2 separate regions of the Homo sapiens genome follow, and region 1 is linked to region 2. Evidence: promoter capture Hi-C in 16 types of primary human blood cells and fetal thymus (Javierre and others, 2016). All regions are on one chromosome and are shown on one strand. The core of a region is centred on a gene start or on the middle of the fragment in contact, and the rest is flanking DNA. Distances in the headings are between cores, read along the strand shown.

The links. Contacts are between HindIII fragments. The CHiCAGO score rates a contact against its expected background, and 5 or more counts as called.
Region 1: a contact is called between a fragment that was not itself captured here and the fragment with the promoter of ASB11 in region 2, in 1 of 17 cell types (M0 macrophages). The highest score is 6.0, in M0 macrophages.

Annotation. Positions count from the first base shown.
Region 1 is chrX:15,675,738-15,678,699 of GRCh38, forward strand. CA5BP1-CA5B (CA5BP1-CA5B readthrough) reads left to right here. Exons shown (of 12, transcript NR_160544.1): 1 at 1-41. It also overlaps the pseudogene CA5BP1. Among named protein-coding and RNA genes, the nearest start is that of CA5BP1-CA5B, 1.8 kb to the left of the region's middle. RefSeq lists an enhancer at 1-4. The HindIII fragment of the contact is 629 bases long and covers 1,364-1,992 here.
Region 2 is chrX:15,314,173-15,317,441 of GRCh38, forward strand. It overlaps ASB11 (ankyrin repeat and SOCS box containing 11), which reads right to left and starts at 1,468. Exons shown (of 7, transcript NM_080873.3): 1 at 1,253-1,468. The coding sequence starts at 1,433. The HindIII fragment of the contact is 9,481 bases long and covers 1,357-3,269 here.

The sequences.
Region 1 (2,962 bases), core at 428-2,927, 360 kb after region 2:
ATCCTCGGGTACCGGGAGCGAACGAGGAGGTTCTGGCTCAGGTAAGTCGTTCGGGTAAGGGCGGGCGGCAGTAAGGAGCGTGGGCAGCAGCAGGGCGTGGTCTGCTTGAGAGGGCAGGAACTGTGCCACTTGCCGCAAACATGACCGCGTGCCGCTATCGGCCCTGGAGCCAGAGAAGCTTTTGGTGCGGCGAGGTTGGCCGGGGCCCTGGCGGGGCTTCTCTGAGGAATGGGAGTGGGAGGCTGGCGGCGGGGAAATAGCCACTTCCCCACTCTAGCCCTCTTTCTCCGCTATGGGGATCACCAGACATCCTTTTAGGATTCTGTCTATTAAAAAGTAGAACAGCTTTCCCAGAGACATTGCGGGATGAGAGGAGTGTCCAGAAACCAAGGAGCAGCAAGCTGGGACTCCCTCGGGTCTGCATTGTTGATATTCCCACCTGACTATGCTAGGGGCTATGGACAGACACAGCCACCCCAGAGTAGATCAAAAGCACAGTTGTGTCCCTTGGACAAATCTGAGTTTTTCTGTTGTGCCTTGCCCCAGAGCCGGAGGAGAGGAACCTCCAAAATGCAGACATTCTTGGTGGCTGGGATTCTGTGTGATATTCAGCGTTAAATGCTGCTGCTCTGAGGCTGCTGGAAACGCGTTAGTATTAATATCTGTGTACTTCTCTCACATTTACTTTTGCTGGAAAAGCTTGGGAAATGACTTAACGAAGATGCGTAAACCTTAATTTGTTTATATGCTCCTTATTAGCCACTGAATACCACATTGCTTTCTGCTTCCCCTTCTTCTTTACTGATAATCTGACCATTTCCACTATGCACTTTGAAAGTCTTGCTGGAGTATGGAGAATAGTCAGAAATCTCTGGTAAGATGCTGCCCCGCGCATCTCTCAGAGGAGTCACTATTCATAGCCTGCATCAGAGTTCACAATGAACCAAAGTTCACCCCACCTCCCCTGTCTTCAGGGACTTAGTGAAAAGCTGCACTGTTCTTGAATATTTTGGAAATGAAAAACTTTCTGGGCTATTTTAAATCAGTACCTGGGCTGGAATTAACCGAAAGGCGAAACAGCAAGGGCACCATTCTCTGTGCCTATACGTAGCTGCCCTGTGCTTGGAACCAAGCAAAAAGGCTGCCACTGCTCACAGTTGCAATGGAATAAAGGTTGAGTGCCTTGTGATTGCATATGAATATTAAGGAAATCTGATGGAAAGAGGGAAATTCATCATGTCACTGGCCACACTGGGGCAGTTAGTTGCAACACACAAATCAGGTATAATATATTTTGAAACCTTTGGCAACCTCAGATTGGGATCACACTCTCAAGGAAGAAGTGAGTGAGAGGAGGAAGCTAAGCTTTCTTAAGACATAGCAGCGTAATCTCTAATTTAAGTTTCAGGAAATTGCAAAAGGCAGGCTTCCTTTTGAAATCAGGAGTTGAGAAAATGAAGAGTCAATCTGATGCCAATCAAGGAATTTTTCAATATAATTGTAACCTTTTGTTAGTACTTTTCCTGTCTCTTTCGCATAAGTTGCTTAATCAGGCAGAGTTCAAGCTATGAGGCATTTAATAAATACATTACTTATGAATGACATTTAAAGACTTTTAGAATCTTTTCTTTTTTCACACATTTCTAAGGCTGCAAAACAACAGAAAAAGAACATGTTAGTAATATCCAAGGCATACATGAATAATCAGTGACAGCAAAGGATGTGTAGCACAGAAGGCTTAGCTCTCCTAGGCGGTATCCAGCCACACACTGGTAATTGTTGAAATGGAGTATTGGATATATAGATGATTTATTCTCACCATTTTTTTGTACAAGTTTGAAGTTTGCCCTAATAAGGGGAAAACAGATTCTAAATTCAGTTGACCCATGGACTATTGCTGTTTAAACCTGCTAAGTGAATTCAGATAGTGAAGTTATTTAAAAACCAGATGCTCTTACCTGGCTGCAGGAACTATCAAGATAAGATATTGAAAGCTTATTGGCAGTCTGTCTTTTAAATCCTGAGCCAGACTTTTTTACATGGCTTCAACAAGGTGATTTTTCATCTCCTTAGACATTTTGACATACACACTCCCACTAAAAACTGTATTTACACAAACACAGATAAAACTAAACAAAAGTGATTTTAACTTTGGTTTGAGAATTGTCAGCACCTTTTAGGCAACGCAGACATACTTTAGGTGTCACTGGCTGTTACGAGTTCAATTGCACCCTCCCATCTCAAACTCATATACGTTTAAGTCTTAAGCCCCAGTACCTCAGAATGTGACCTCATATGGAGATTGGGTCTGTATAAAGGTAATTATGGTCATTAGGGTGACCACTAGTCCAATATAACTGGTGTCCTTAATTAAAAGGGAAATTTGGACACAGACAAGATGAGAATGGCTTACGAAAATTGGATTTAATGCTGACACAAGCCAAGGAATTACCAGAAGCAAGGTTTATTAGGTGTTCTCCAGAGAAACAAAACCAATTGTGTGTGTGTATGTGTATATATGTGTGTGTGTATGTATGTATGTGTGGGTGTGCCTGTGTGTGTGCTTGTGCGTGTGTGTGTGTGTGTGTGTTTAGAGAGAGATTTATTTTTAAAAATTGGCTCGTGAATGTAGGCTCGTGAAATTTGCAGTGCAGGCCAGCAGACTGGAGACCAGGGAAGAATTGATATTACAGCCTGTCTTACTCAGTTTTGTGCTGTAACAGAATACCTGACACTGGATAATTTATAATGAACAGAAATTTATGTGGCTCATGATTCTGGAGGCTGGGAAGTCCAAGGGCATGGTGCCAGCATCTGCTCAGCATCTAGTGAGGGCTCTCTCTTGCATCATCCCATAGCACAAGGCAGAAGGGCAAGAACATGTGCATGTGAGGGGTGGGAGTGGTTGGGGGTGAAGAAGGAGGGAGGGAGGGAAGGGAAAGAAGCCAAATTTATCCTTATA
Region 2 (3,269 bases), core at 218-2,717:
TTGGACTTCATCTAATTTAGACCAGAAGAATGATTTATCTATGAGAACACCAAAACTATTATTGAAAATTTTAGAAAGCCCTTGCCCAAATTGACAAATTAAATTAGAAGATAACTTTTCAGATCATGCTTAACTTGAAACTTATCAGAAGCATTACTTTTTTTTTTTTTTTTTGTAACTAGTCAAAGTAACATACCTCCCTGAAATGTGTGACAAATATAATCCCCAAAAGAAATCTCTTTCCATGGTCCGGACCTTCTGATACGTTCTGAAACTTCACAATTCTTCTCATTTTCCCCAGTTAATTGAAGCATTCTGATGCTTCGTCCTTGGAGGTCTTATTTCTTTAGATAAGACTGCTGTTGTCTAGTGTCTTCTGAGTTGTCTAGTGTATTGGAATCACATAAGACTATTTTGAAAGAGAATCCTGGATGCAAATTGAAATGGATACTAGATAAAGAATGATGTAATCCTGGAACCCCTGCAAACACTAAAAATACACGGGGAAATTCTGAACTCTGTTTATGAATAAATACTCCTCTATTAAGTGACAATCCCAGGAGTGACAGGGATATCTGACTCATTTACTTTTGTAGCATCTCACCACAATTAAAGTAAATCATTTCTTGAAAGAAATGGACACTATTCTCTACAAAGCATGAGAATTTAAAATGTTTTGCCCAAATCTTGGCATTTCATGTTAGAATAAACTTTGTTTGGAGTGCTTTGCATGCTACCATATAAAATGGGTTTAGTGAAGAGCTTTTCCTGACAGTGACAAGTGGTTAATCAATTCCAGTTGCAAATGACAGCAAAAAAAATACACATAGCTTGCCACGTTTGCTGCTTTAATTATAATTTATTAGTCATTCTATTTCCTGAGAGAATTTAGTCTGGTTAGAATGCCCTTCATTGTTAAAGTTTGCTTTAAAATATTAAAGAAAATAATTATATACAAGTAATTACTTTGGCTAGTAGAAATGAAGTTTCTCAAAATACTCTTAGTAAGCCACTACCTATTTACTTCTTAAATAACAACTGCTACAAGATCTACGAACTTGCAAAAAATAAAGCTGAAAATCCTCCACAAATTGATGCAGCCAACAGCATTTGCTACTTTAAGTGACAATTTTTCAAACTACCCACTTAAAATCAAAGTATAAATATAATCTGCCTTCCAGAAATACTAGTCATATGAATTATCTAGGAGGGATTTTCTTTAAATATTAGGAACAAATTCATGTACTTTTACCTGAAATTCCACCATAGATCTCTTCTGCTATCCTAGCCGCTTCTTTTCTATTTCCTTTGACGATATAGAAATGGGTTAGGAGAGCCAAAAAAACTTTAATTAAAAGCTTAAAGAAAAAAAACGTAGCAAACATTGTAATAAAAATGTTTTTAAAGCCATAGAAAACAGGACCATCTTCCATTTTGGCTTATGCTCTGTATAGGGTCCTAGGACTGTAAAATTTCACTGAGTTATAATTGGTATCATATGACATCTATTTTAAACCTTCTAGCACTCAGTGCTCCTGTTACCGAGATCTCTGTAGGTTCTAATCTAACTGATTTGGCGACTGCATGTGCTGACTCCACAGCAGTGTTAAATAAACTAAAGAAACTTCCTTCTAACCAGAAACATCCAATAGTTCTAGAACTACATAACTCAGTACTATCTAACAGATAAGATTCATATCCAAACATTTTATATTCCTAAACCCCTATTTTTCCTATTTTATGTTAGAAAGCAGGGTTGGAAAGATAGAAACTTCTTGGCTTCCACAGAAACAAAGCAAGTTATTTGACATACAAAAGAAGTGCAAATATGCTGTATGTTCTAAGTGGGAAATACTACTCCCTGGAGCATTTCATTTTCTCTTAATTCTGAAGTTTATAGAGGATTAAATCCAAATCTAAAATATGACCAGTTAAAAAAGACCATTTACCTGGCCGGGCGCGGTGGTTGACTCCTGTAATCCCAGCACTTTGGGAGGCTGAAGCAGGCGGATCACCTGAGGTCAGGAGTTTGCGACCAGCCTGGCCAACATGGCGAAACCCCCGTCTCTACTAAAAGTACAAAAATTAGCTGGGCGTGGTGGCAGGTGCCTGTAATCCCAGCTACTCAGGAGGCTGAGGCAGGAGAATTGCTTGAACCTGGGAGGCGGAGGTTGCAGTGAGCCGAGATCGCGCCACTGCACTCCAGCCTGGGTGACAAGAGCAAGATTCTGTCTCAAAAAAAAAAAAAAAAAAGACAATTTACCCTAAAGCTGTATGTATGTATGTATGCATGTATGCACGTATGTATGTATTTAGTTTTAAGATGGAGTCTTACTCTGTTGCCCAGGCTGGAGTGCAATGGTGCGATCGCGGCTCACTGCAACCTCTGCCTCCTGGGTTCAAGCGATTCTCCTGCCTCAGCCTCCCAAGAAGCTGGGATTACAGGCATGCGTCACCACGCCTGGATAATTTTCGTATTTTTAGTAGAGACGAGGTTTCGCCATGTTGGCCAGGCTGGTCTCGAACCCCTGACCTCAGGTGATCCACCCACTTTGGCCTCCCAAAGTGCTAGGATTACAGGTGTGAGCCACTGCACCCGGCCAAGCCTGTATTTAATAAAAGGCCTATCTTGGATGCCTCTCCAAGTAAGTGTCACACTAGAAGCATCAGACTACTCGCCATGGTAGTTCCATCTGGGACAAGGTCCCATGGCAAGGTTCCCTCCTGATCATTCACTTGCATTTCAAGCATTGGTAAAGGTGGTGCCCATTTCTGAAAAATGTGGGCTATCCTTGATCATGGAAGAGTCATAGTGAAATGGACAAAAGAGATGCCCTAGGTTCTGGATGAAGTACCCAAATATTTCATGAATCAACCTTCTCTAGTTGGGCAATTTTCTCTTATCAGCTGGCCAACACAAGTGAAATGGGTTTATTTTTAGTTTTCCTCATCACTCTAGGTCTCTGCCTTCATTCTTGGCTATGTTCGATTTTGTAAATTTTAAAAATCAATTGAAAAGACAAGCCAAAATATAGTTATACAAGTGGCCTAATAAATCTTAACAAATGATTTATGCAAAAATATGGGAATTTCTCCTAGCATGCAGGCAAATTAGAATGACTGCCTGGTTAAGAACTGTTTCACTACATTAAAAAGCTGACATGTAAGAATACAATCTTGAGTCACAACATACAGCTCATCGATTTCAGTGTATCAGAGCACTATAAAGACCTTGAGTCGTCTTAACTCTCAAGGAACAGACATTAACA